2 separate regions of the Homo sapiens genome follow, and region 1 is linked to region 2. Evidence: promoter capture Hi-C in 16 types of primary human blood cells and fetal thymus (Javierre and others, 2016). All regions are on one chromosome and are shown on one strand. Each heading gives the region's core, a stretch centred on a gene start or on the middle of the fragment in contact. The rest is flanking DNA. Distances are from core to core; before and after follow the strand shown. Region 1 holds the start of CYP27B1 (cytochrome P450 family 27 subfamily B member 1). Region 2 holds the start of AVIL (advillin).

Region 1 (6,451 bases), core at 249-2,748, 52 kb before region 2:
GCTGCGGTGGCCAGGAGAGGGATTGCGTCTGCCCCCTTGGGGTACGGAAACCTGCACCGGCCTGCGCCTGTCTTCCAGCCCCCTTCCTCTTTACTCATTTCCTGCCCTCAGGGGCCGGGGTTCCCGGGTAACTTGAGTCACAGAACCTTACATTCATTCCATCCAGATCCTTGTACCCTAGCCCAATTCCTCCGGTTCCCCCAGTTCCCAGGATTCGGGCCTCAAAGGATAAGGAGGTAGGCGGGGAGTGAGGTTGGGGCTCAACCTGAGTGTGGGTGAAGCAGACTGGGATGGGAACCCCAAGATGCCCAATGGTAGAGTGGGACAGCCGACCTCCCACCATGCCCCCAGATTGATAGTTTCGGGACCCGCAGCAGGAGAGGGCCGCTGCAGGGCGTCTGGGCTTCTGGGGGCAGAGAAGACTCACGCAGTGAGCAGTCCGCAAGCCCGCTGGCGGCAGCGGCGGTGCTCCGTCCAGGGCGAGAAGCTGCAGCGCTCGGGCCGGGGTCCCTCCTGTCGCAGCAGCTCCTCGACGAGTGCAGGGGCAGCCACGTACACGGTGCGCACTGTCCCAAAGCTGGCTAGCCACACCGGCCCGAAGTGCGCGGCGCCCTGCACCTGGGGGAGCGGACACAGCGGACACTTGGATACCTGGGCGGGGACTTTCAGCTTGACCTGTGCCCACGCCAAGGGCGTTGACTGGGCTTGGGAATAGGGAGCTTCTGCTCTTTCTCGGGTGCCCAACTAGTGTATGCCTTTGATACTGCAAACTCCTCCTCTCTCATTTCCCATCCCTAGAAAGTTTGAGTGTGATGGGCAAAACCGGAACTTTGTGCAAGGCAGACATTCAGGACCTCTCTGATCATCTCGGTCGAGGAGAAATCTCTAAAAGTTCCATGTCTGGACTGTCCATCTCAGGACGAGTCCTCAGTGAATGAAAAGGAACCCATGTAGCTTTAAGCCGCAAGCAGGCGGAGGGTACTGCCCACTCCGGCCTCCCCCTCCCGCGCACTTGTACTTTATCTGCAGGATCTCCACACCTCAGGACAGCGAGAAGGCGCTTTCGCAGCGCCCTCTGCTAAGAGTCGGGACGGGCTCTGCCCGAGTGTAGCCACACCGCCCCCAGCCTCAACTCGCCTTTTCCTTATTTCATGGGCATCCGTTCTCTCTGGCTGTCCCACATTTGCTCTGCACTAGTCAGTCCTTTCTGACGCTGTCAAAACCAGTTTCCCCAGCACTCTGTCTCGGGAAAGGCGTCCCTTCCTACCTGCAGCTCGTGTAGCCTCGACAGCCCCCCCTTGCAGAAAAGTTCGGCCAGAAAGCTGGGCGTAGAGGGGCCTGGGATGTCTGCCAAGCTCCGGCGTGCTGAGTGGTACTCTCGGTAGCCTAGGGAGGCGCCCAACTCGGGCGCCCAGCGGACGCGATGGAACACTCTGGAGGCGTACTTGAGGGTCTGGGTCATGGTCTGGTTCAGGGTGCTCGCGAAAGAAAGCGCTTCTCCTGAGCATCATATCTCAACCCCTATTTAACCTTTGGGTGAGGTGATGACGCCCCCTCTCCAAGCTCCTCAGCCAATCCCTCCTCCTGAGTGGTCTGTGCTGGGGATTAGCACCCAGGAACAGTAGGCGGGGCTGGGGCTGACTTCACAACTCCCTTGGGTCTCATGTTGCAATGACCCTCATGGGAGGGAGGGCCTAAGATTTTCCTCCTGGGAGAGTGCCTTTGTCTAGGAGCCTCAAAGTCTCATCCTAGGAAAGGCTATAAGGCTTTTTAGTAGGGACTAGGTGACCAAGCTACACTAGTCAGTCTCTGATATTCCCACTTCTACCAGTGAGCCCAGCCCCTTTAGGCCCATCCTCAGGAATTCCCCATCTTTCAGCTCCTCCAGGAAGGGAAGCAGGGGAGGCACAGCTGTAACTGTCCCCACATTCTTGGCTTAGTGGGTTGTATCTTCTCTGCATTATTTTCCTGCACTAGCCACACCTCCCCCTCCTCCTGTACCTAACATATACTGGGCAGATGGCAGGTGGGTTAATGGGCTAAAATGGCTCCTAGAACCTCCATCTTTCTTTCTTGAGGATAAGGGGGTCTCTTGGGTATACAAGCCCCCTCCTTCCAGACATGGGAATTTGGGGCTTGAGAAGCAGAAATGAAACTTTTTGTACATTAGTTAAGTTCAGAGATTGTCTGTGGGGTGTTAGAGGAGCTAAATGGATGTGGATGTTCTAATTCCCCAGCTGACTCGGTCTCCTCTGGGGGGCTTTCTGGTTAGCAGCTCCTTTCTACTTTTAGCCTCAGAATCCTGTGGTGGCTCATGCCTATAATCCCAGCACTTTGGGAGGCTGAGGCAGGAGGATGGCATGAGGCCAGGAGGTTGAGACAAGCTTGAGCAACATAGCAAGACTGTCTCTACAGAAGAAGTTTAAAAATTAGGCTGGGCACGGCAGCTCATGACTGTAATCCCAACACTTTGGGAGGCTAAGGTGGGCAGACTGCTTGAGCTCAGGAGTCTGAGACCAGCCTGGGCAACATAGTGGAACTGTCTCTACAAAAAATACAAAAATTAGCCAGGCATGGTGGCGTATGCCTGTAGTGCCTTGAGAGGCTGAGGTGGATTACATGAGCCCGGGAGGTCAAGGCTGCAGTGAGTTATGATTGTACCACTGCACTCCAGCCTAGGCAACAGAGAGAGGGCCTGTCTCTAAAAAAAATTAAAATAAAAGAATCTCCCACAGTTTACCTCTCTGCTCCTTACTCCCTCATTCCCCACTGCAACTCTATCAGGCTCTGTGCCAGTCAGCTAGCTCTGAAGTTCTGGAATTGAAGGTCAATGTGAAAAAGGAGAGGGTCTCCACCCCCACACCTTCCCAAGGACTCTCCAGAGACAACACTTAGGGAACACAGATTCCCCAGGTCAAGTCTTACGCAGGGAGAGGACAGGAGGATGGTAGAAGGCATATGATACATACTCCACCCTTTCCTGAGAAATGGCAGAATAGGCATGTGTACACATATACATGTTATCCCAGGATCCACAAAGCAAACAGAAGTGGTAATTGAGCCTAGCAAGCAGTTTAGATGGACTACATTCCTCATTCCAGCTGAGGAGAGATCTCACAAGGAGAAAGGAGTGCTAAGGAAGAGCAAGACCCCACAGCCTTCCAAAGATCCCCTATGGTCCAAAGTCCTTTGACCATCTCAGTCAGCTGCTTTGTTTTCTGTTGGCAGTGGAGGGACAAGGTGAGAGGAGCCAGGGGTAGTCATGAACACCAGTGGGTTCTGCCCTGGGCAGCTCCCCACCTTCTTTAAGAGAGTACTGTGTCTCAGCTCCAGCAGTCTCAACTGGGAAGACCCAGGACTCCTGCTCTTTTCTCTAATCCCTGGGAGACGAGGTCCAGCTAAGGTAGAGTAAGCAGTCAGTGACCAGGCAGGCTGGTTTGGGAGGTCACTGCCTGGAGGACGGGATCTTGTATTCTTCGGAAGATGGCTGGGAAATTCTTCCCTCCATTACGTAGAACTTTCTTCCCCTCCTCAGTTGAGGTGCCTAGATGTCCCACAACGGGGTCTTCACTCTGGGAGAAGGAAGGGTCCAATAAGTCCTTGCCCACTGTTCAGACTGCCCCTGGCCCTTAGACACCTATCCCATCCTCCTGGCACTGAGTTAAGTCCAAATACAGAACCACTCTGGAAAGGGCCTCCACCTCCTCTAGGTCCCCTACTCACCAGGTCCTCCAGAGGCACACGCTCAAACAGTGGGTGCTCTTCGAAATGAGTGCACATCCAGTCGTGTAGCTCCAGCACATCGGTTATGGTATACACCAGCCCCTGCATAGGCAAAATCACCCTAGACAGGAGGCTGCATGCAACGTCAGCAGCCAGATGAAGGAAGTGGTGGTGTGAGTCCCTAAATGCACCCCCACTGAATTCTTAGTGAAGGGCCCCTGAGTAGGCCACTCACCCCATCATCCCTCCGATCCCAACTCACCCCAACTCTTAGCACGTAGGCATATTCTGCTAGCAGGGTGGGACTGATGATTCGCCACTTGTGCTTTGTCCGCTTGAAATGTGGGTCGGGGAAGAGGAAGAACATCTTTGTCAGCTGTGAGACAGACACACACCAACAGGGTTGTGAGAGCCTGGCCTCCATGCCCCCACCTGCCTACCAGCCTAACCCACCAGGGCCCCTCCCCACCTGGCCCTTGTAGAAGAAGTTAGGAAGGTGCTTCATGGCATTGCTACGGAGACAGGCGATGTTCTGGAAGCCACCTGCAGGAGCTGCGCGTAGGGCCCGAATCCGGTCTTGTACATAGTCTGAGACCTTCACCCGGATCTCCAGACCCAGAATAAGTGTGTCTGGGAACAGCGGTGACAGTTCCACTGCACACAGAAATAGCAATGGAATCATCAACCATATACTTGTAGGAAGTGCAAAGGGGTCAACACAGGAAAGGAAGCCTCAACCTGCAACTACCAAAGTCCAGAACGGCAAGAGAGGACAGAGATACATATATGGATAGTTTTATGCTCAAGAGGCGGGGGGAGAAATGAAAATTGTCACCAGGACCAGAATGGGAGGGCTGAGGATACATGTATATTTGCCATTGCTTTAGAGTTTTCCACAGTGTTTTCACACATTGTGTTATTTCATCCTTATAACACTCTGTGGTAAATTGTGAAGATAAGGAAACTGAGGGTCAGATATGCCGAAGATCATAGAGTTAAGAAGGGGCAGAACTGGAACTTATTTATTTGAGATGGAGTCTTGCTCTGTCACCCAGGCTGGAGTGCAGTGGCACAATCTTGGCTCACTGCAATCTCTGCCTCCCAGGTTCAAGTAATTCTCCTGCCTCAGCCTCCTGAGTAGCTGGTCTTGAACTCCTGGCCTCAAGTGGTCCACCTGCCTCAGCCTCCCAAAGTGTTGGGATTACAGGTGTGAGCCACTGTGCCCAGGCAGAACTGGACCTTAAACCAAGGTTTTCTGCCTCTATGTACCATGCTCTTCTTCTCTATCAGGCTGTTATCTGTTTGGGAAGATCTAAAAATAGGGAGTGGCTTGGCATGCATGGGTGGGACAATACAGACAATACAAGAGGAACCCAAAAAACAGGAGAGTGGGGCAGAAGGAATGAGATCTGGCGAGGGAGGGGCAAAGGGGAGGGGAGATGGTAGAATCTCTGAGAAAAGACAGTTCAGGATCACTGGCCACAACGGCTAATCTCTGATGCTTGTGCTGACCAGCTCACTGACCCGGAACCTGGCAGATGAAATGGCTCATGTAGGGATTGACGCCAGAAAGGACAACCCAGGTTTTAAGAAGCATTTGAGGCAGCCCCCTCCACTCTCCAGGGCAAAGGTCACAGACCCAGAGTAGAGGGTAGGTGGAGCCTCTCCATGCTGATGTCACCAGTGTCTGGACGAAAGGGGAAAGGCCAATTATGACCCCCCACAAAAGTTGCTGAGGCAGCAGAAGCTACTAGGCCTCTTCTCACCCCAAAAAGAGGGCCTGAGTGTTACCTAACAGGCCACCATAGCCACAGCCTATGTCTGCAAACTCCACTTGGGCCTGAGCTCTCTTTTCTTTCTTATCCTTTGGGTCATCGTGGCTCTGATTTTGAGTGAGTGGAGCGAAGAACTCTGGGTATAGCTCAGACCAGTCCATCTCCTCTGGCTTCACAGGGCTATTGGAAAGAAGACATAAGAAGCATGAGAAGGTTGGTCACACCATTGCAGAAGTGGTACTGTGAGAGTGTGTGGGTGGGTGAGGGTGGGAGGTAAAAGGGAGGAGGGTTTCTCAAAAATTCTGTAACACTGGGCCCTGTGGCCTCTAAGAGGGACAATGGAAACCACCCTTAACTCCCAGTGTGAATCATAGGACCATCATGAGGCCCATAAACGCTGACCTGCCCAACTCCACTTCTGGCGGTTGATGTGACCCTGGCCGGGTAACTGCCCTTTCTGGGGCACAAGTTCCCCTTCTCCCGAGACTGGCTGCCTAATGCACTGGGATCCTACTTTGTGTTTGTGCTCTGCGGGGAGGGAAGGTAAGGTAAGGTGCGGGCAGGATTGTGTATATGTTTGCCTTTTTATTAAATCCAACAAACAAAAGCAAAAGATGGAAACGACATTCTGCCTCTATCACTTCAGTCTCAGTAACAATTTATTTCTCTTCCCAAACTTAGCACCGCTACCCAGACTTAGGCCCGAACGCCACGCCCACTCTCAACCCGCCAACTCCTCTCTCGGTCGAATCTCCCGGTCCCACCCCCAAAAACTGACGTCACCCATCTGATCCTCCCGGGTCTACCCCAAATCCTCCCAGCAGTTGCAGCACAACTGCTCTCCCGGCTGCTTTGAGAATCCCGCCCTCCTCTCTCTCCCTCTGCCCACTCCTCACTAGCGCAGCGTGTGGTCCGCCATGGGGTTGGAGTGAGCACGTTGCCGGTAGTAGCGC
Region 2 (6,094 bases), core at 3,534-6,033:
ATCCTCTTATGCAGCATTAAAAACCCAGGCTTAATGATGGCCTTTGATAGTCAGACTGGAGGTCTGCTCTGCATAGCACTGAGGAACCATTGAGACCGATACCAGGGACTGACTACCTTCCCTCACCAGCACATCTCCCAGTACAGCCCAAGAACTGGCCCCAGGGGAGAGGCTCACAGGAGTGGGGAGGAGGGTGCTCACCGAGAGGATGACGTAGCAGTCCCCCTCATAGAAGTTGCCGTGGGCGCTCACAGGCACCAGCGCCAGCTCCATTTTCTGGAAGGACAAGGGGTGGGTATAGGCTACATCCCCTCCCACCTCCCTTCCCCATGAGCCTCCCTCTCCTCTCTGTCATTCGGTGCAGGTGGTGGGGAGAAGGAGGGGAGATGTTCTCAATGACCTTACAGGATGTGAGGCTGCCAGCCACAGGGTTAACGTGGCCATCCCTCTGGCTTCTGTGAGCTCTGCTTGCATCACCCCGGATCTGAACCTTGGTCCCTATCCTGCTTTCCCTTGCCCTATTCTCCACTCTACTTCCCACCCGATCTCATCTCGCACTATTGTGGGAAACCTGTGAACCACCTCCAGCCCTTTGCTGGATATAAACGACCAAGTACAAACCCTTCTCTGAGCCGTTGTGCCAGCACCTCCAACGCTCTTCCCAACGCTGACCACTGGGTGCTGGCCCAGGCCCATGTAAGAAAGAACACTTGGATTCTGTGGGGCCGTGGGAGGTGGAGGATAACATTTGGAGAGTGCCAGCGGTCAGCAGGGCTCTGTGCCAAGTGTCTTATATTTGGAGTCTGGGTCAGGGCCCTGATTTATCACTGCATGTATGGCTTGGCCCTGGAGGACTGTTCACACAGCCTTGATGTAGATTTTCATCACACTCCCCAAGTGAGGGAAACTTGCGGCCATACTTGTGTGTGTTCTATGTAAAATGTGATAAATGTTAAATATACTGCAAATCTGGTAACCGTGTTTTAGTACTTGTTTTTTGTTTTTGTTTTTGTTTTTTTTGAGAGGGAGTCTCCCTGTGTCTCCCAGGCTGGAGTGCAGTGGCGCGATCTCGGCTCACTGCAAGCTCCGCCTCCCGGGTTCACGCCATTCTCCTGCCTCAGCCTCCTGAGTAGCTGGGACTATAGGCGCCTGCCACCATGCCCAGCTAATTTTTTGTATTTTTAGTAGAGGTGGGGTTTCACTGTGTTAGCCAGGATGGTCTCAATCTCCTGACTTCGTGATCCACCCGCCTCAGCCTCCCAGAGTGCTGGGATTACAGGCGTGAGCCACCGCACCCCGCCAGTACCTGTTAGTTTTTAAGGAAACTGGAAGCCTTCAAACAGTGGAAGTGACCTGGGACTCACAATCTCTGCGAGGCTTGCTGGAGAGCTGACTCCCCCTCCTGGTTGAGGATAGTGAAGTGAGGCATCATCGCTGGGTTTTAGGCAGCAGCAACTGACTGGGCTCAGGGCAGGGGTTGGGGGGAATCCTCGTATCTGGCAGGTGGAGCTACCCAGGCCAGGGTGGTTCCCAGCTATGGATTGCTGGAGCTCACAGCCGCACAGAGGGTCCCAAGCCCAAGAGGAGACGGGCTGAACAGCTCCTCATCTCTGCAGTGCCCCCTCACCTCTCCCCATATTTTGTAGGAGCCAGGGTGCCCCGTGGAAGACATGTTCCATTTCTCTGATGGAAGCTGCCAGGAGTCTGCTGAGTAGGTCCCACCTGTCTTTCCAGGGTGTTTCCTGCAAGTGCAGACTCACTGAGCAGGTGGCTGGCTAAAGGACAAGCCTGTTTTTGTCTGGAGCCCTGTTCTTCGGGGCTGAACATTTCCTCCACCTGCCAACCACCTGCTTTGAGCACCCAGGAGAGGTGAAGGATGGGAAATAGGTACTTTGATGCTGCCTCTCATTCTCCTCAAACCATAGGCTAAGGGGTGCTGGCGGGCTGTTGCCTAGCAGCCCCAGGCAGCCAGACTGCTTCCAGATGCCAGTGGTCACAAGTAAGGTGCCTCCAGCCCAGCTCACCTCTATTCTCCAGACAATGATCCCAGGGTCGTTGTCCACAGCCCTGAAGGCACTGGTCAGAGGCATGATGCTTGTCTTTCCAGGACTGAAACATCACAGAACAAGAGGGGAGATGATATCTCTTGCCATAGTGGGCATCAATCCAGTTTTTCTGCCGAGCTGCTTCCCAGTCTGTTGTCAGCCATCCTGCCACACCCTCATGGTGCATCCCTGCACCATTTCACAATGATGGGGGCAAGGACTTGTCCAAGTGCACATGGTGAGCCTGGCTGGCCTGGGGATTACCACCCATGAGTTCTGCTTCCCACCTGCCATTGCCCTTAAGAGCTCTGGTAATCGTCATGGTTATTTACCAAAGGGGTGATAAATATGTTAAGCCCTGTATTGATTCACTTTGCATATGTTATCTCTAATTTTCAGAAGGTGAGTTTCTTCATCTTACATTGTGTGAATCTGAGGTTTGCAAAGGCTGAATAACTTGTACAAGATCACACTCTAGAATGAAATCCTTATCTGATCCCCAAACCTGTGCTTCTAGCCACTTTGATGTACTACAACCCTTCCTAAACCAATCTAAGTTCAGTGGCATTTGGAAAGAAAAGCTAGTCAGAAAAAATATTTCCAAACTCAGTTGCCTTCTCTCACTCTCATTCCAATTCTTCCCAAGTTCCCTGCTTGCAAGGCCTTCTCCACAGTCAACTTTGACCTTCTCTTTGGCTTTTGTCCTTTTTTTTTTTTTTTTTTTTTTTTTAGAGTAAACTATTCTTAAACTCAAACAACCCTTCCTTCTTTTGTCACTACTATATTCCCTGTGCTTTCCAGATGCAAGGAAAGTAAAATGGCAGGGCTGGGCCTGGGACAAAGGGTTCTGGGTGCTAGCAGGGTGTGGCCTGGTCTGGCCTGCGGACAGATGGCTTCCTTTTTCCCTCCCACACAGACCCAAGCTTCTGTGTGGAAGCGTGAACCTCAGACACTTAGACGTCTCCAGTTCCTTCAGGATTGAGCAAGTCAGGGTGGGGAGAGGGGGGAAGTGGTAAAGATCTAAGTCTGTGTAGGTCGTGTACCATCTGTATTCAAGGAGCATCTTGGGTAATTAAGCACCTACCCATGTCCAAGGCCACGTAGAGGCTTTATAGAATTAAAATACCTGCTCTCAAGGAGCTTGAAATCTGATAACATGCATAATTAATGTAAAGCTAGATTAATTTCTCCCAAGAGGCAAAGGAAAAAGGATGGGGTTGATGGATTTATGTAAGATTTAAAAATTCACCCAGAAAGGACTGTATGCATTTTTGCTGTTTGGGGACATACTGTTTGTTAAGAGGAACATGTCTGACCATTGTTTTCTTGAACCTTGATGGACAAAGCCAAGTTTGGAGAGCATGCGCCATCTAGTATGGACTTTGGCAAAAAACCATAAAGCTCAAAGCAGACTCGCTTTGTCTACTGCTGTAGCAGGACTAAAGCAAGGCAATGGTGCGGAGCAGCCAGTGTTTGAGAATTTAATTTGATAACTTGTGCTGCCCCACCCTGTGCTGCTCAGAATTGCCAGGAAATATGGTGTTTGGGTTTTCTTCAGACCCTACGTAGCAGTCATTAAAGGCAAAAGCCATGAGCCAACTAGGGGAAGGGGACAAGGGCCACTGAATTCATTCCTTGGAGACAGAGAACTGTCACCCTGGTAAAAGCCAAACCAGCCGGCAGCAATTAGGACTGTGAGCCTCAGAGGCTGAAACCTGTCCCGTTTCCCAGCAGGAATTTAGGAATCAAGGAGCTCCCTGGGCCAGGCACCCCGAATGCGAGAGGATAAGCTCCAGGAAGGGACTTCCTGTCACACTGGAACACACAGAAAACACAGTTCTGACATCAAATCTCCCAAAGCTGGGTCTCTCCTTCTCCCTAAATCCTAATTCAGTATCCTTTGAGAGGACTGCAGAAACCCCTTGGGTGTGGGGCACAGTTTTGAAATGTCAGGTTAAAAGCCAGTGGCCTGTAATTCTCAGAGATGCCCTTTTGGACGGACCCTGAGCAGAGGAAGCTGTTTTTTGTTGTTGTTGTTTTTGAGACAGGGTCTTGCTCTGTCACCCAGGCTGGAGTGCAGTGGTACAATCACGGCTCACTGCAACCGCCACCTCCTGGGCTCAAGTGATCCTTCTGCCTCAGCCTCCTGAGAAGCTGAGACCACAGGTGTGCACCACCATGCTTGGCTTTTTTTTTTTTTTTTTTTTTTTTTTTTTTTGTAGAGACAGGGTCTCACTATGTTGCCCAGGATGGTCACAAGTTACAAACTCCTGGGCTCAAACAATCCTCATGCCCTGGCTTCCCAAAGTGTTGGGATTACAGGTGTAAGCCACCTCTCTGGGCCAGGAAGCTGGTTTTAACTCCTCCTGCCTTGCTCCATACCATCTTTCTCTAGGGATAGGTGAAAGGGGTCTGTCTTTCCCAGCTTTTGAAAATGTGCCCTATATGTTCAGCTGCCTCTAAGGGGTTCTTCTGAACAAGAAGTTTGCAAAACTGGCCAGCCAGACTCCTGGTTCATTTTAAAAGCCTCATCTCAGAAGACAAAGCCAAGGGACTCTCAAGCTCCTCTTCCTTTCATTTCTTCCTCATTCAGGAGGATTAACTGGCATGCCCCCGTAAATCAGAGACCTTACCTTGCCTTCTCGCTCACCAGCCTTCCCAGTTTCCCGGCGCGTAAGCAGCAGCAGTATTGAAGAACCACTCCAAAGCAGGAGGCTCCAGGTCCTGCTGCCTTAGCTTAGTAATGGCCGCAGAGATACTGGGTTATATTTGCTTGTGTTTGCATCTTAACCGCATTTTCCTAGTCCTGGCCAATCAGAGCCAACCTAGCACTGAGCTTGGCTTATTCAAACCAGAGGGAAAGCTTTATCTGTGCCTATTCAAAACAGCAAAACAGAAGAGCAGACTTTTAAAGGCTTCTTTGAACTCCAGCTCCACGCCCTGATCTAATTGATTTTTTAAAAAGTGCACACAGCCCATCAATAATGCAGGAAAGAGGTTGGAAGGATATGAAATTTGCCATATTGTAGATATGGATGCATTATGGTGATGACAGGAGGAAGAGGCTGGAGCTGCCCCATGAGTGCCTGTGATGTCTAGGTTGGCAAGAGCCTCCCTAAGAAGCTTCTGGCATTTCTCAAAGGGAGGGGAAGTCTGGGAGAGGAGCCAGAATTTTATTAGGCCACAGTTTTGCTCGTTGGGGTCTCTACTAGTCATACAGTAAACCAATCAATATTTGAGTGCCTGCTGTTTGCCAGGAACCATGCTGGGCTCTCAGCTTCAGGGTTTCCAGTTTGGAAGAATCAGTGAGGGGCAGAGAAGAATCAAGACTCCATTCCCAGGGCTGGGTGTGGTGGTGGCTCACGCCTGTAATCCCAGCACTTTGGGAGGCTGAGGTGGGTGGATCACAATGTGAGGAGTTTGAAAACAGCCTGGCCAAGATGGTGAAACCCCATCTCTACTAAAAATACAAAAATGAGCCGGGCGTGCTGGCAGGCGCCTGTAATCCCAGCTACTCAGGAGACTGAGGCAGGAGAATCGCTTGAACCTGGGAGGTGGAGGTTGCAGTGAGCTGAGATCATGCCACTGCCTCTAGCCTGGGCAACAGAGCAAGACTCCATTTCAAAAAAAAAAAAAAAAATAATAATCCATTCCCTTAGGGCTTCTGGTTCATGCCCAGAAGTCAATAGGACATCAAGCATATACACGTGCTAAGCACCTGACTGCAATGGGGTTGATCACAGCAGAACTTGTGTAACCTTGAGCGGAAGCCCTGTGTGGCATCTGCAGCTGGCCTCCCGGTGGGTGCAACACCCCACTCAGCCCGGGGGTGCAGCTGCTTCATGATGGAAGGGGTTGCGAGAAGAAAGGCGGTGCTTGCCATGGGCCCAGTGAACACTTAAGGGCCAATGAAGGTTGGTGGCAGCTCACATTCCTGGAAAGGTTTTTTAAACCCACTTTTATTAATTAATTGTAAGTAATACAAATATTCCAAAAATATAAACAGACACTTAATGGCGTCCTGCATTTCAAGTTTTTGAATACAACAA

Evidence for each region. Contacts are between HindIII fragments. The CHiCAGO score rates a contact against its expected background, and 5 or more counts as called.
Region 1: the fragment with the promoter of CYP27B1 here is called in contact with the fragment with the promoter of AVIL in region 2 in 5 of 17 cell types (M0 macrophages, M1 macrophages, M2 macrophages and 2 more); the score reaches 11.2 in M0 macrophages.

Annotation. Positions count from the first base shown.
Region 1 is chr12:57,765,580-57,772,030 of GRCh38, forward strand. CYP27B1 (cytochrome P450 family 27 subfamily B member 1) reads right to left here and starts at 1,499. Exons shown (of 9, transcript NM_000785.4): 1 at 1,268-1,499; 2 at 428-618. The coding sequence starts at 1,462. METTL1 (methyltransferase 1, tRNA methylguanosine) reads right to left here. Exons shown (of 6, transcript NM_005371.6): 1 at 6,395-6,451; 2 at 5,515-5,678; 3 at 4,193-4,377; 4 at 3,986-4,099; 5 at 3,724-3,825; 6 at 2,892-3,572. The coding sequence ends at 3,417. RefSeq lists enhancers at 5,385-6,451, 6,270-6,451. The HindIII fragment of the contact is 11,205 bases long and covers 1-2,382 here.
Region 2 is chr12:57,813,951-57,820,044 of GRCh38, forward strand. It overlaps AVIL (advillin), which reads right to left and starts at 4,784. Exons shown (of 20, transcript NM_006576.4): 1 at 4,679-4,784; 2 at 2,025-2,109; 3 at 202-276. The coding sequence starts at 2,090. It overlaps CTDSP2 (CTD small phosphatase 2), which reads right to left. Exons shown (of 8, transcript NM_005730.4): 8 at 5,977-6,094. The HindIII fragment of the contact is 1,940 bases long and covers 2,967-4,906 here.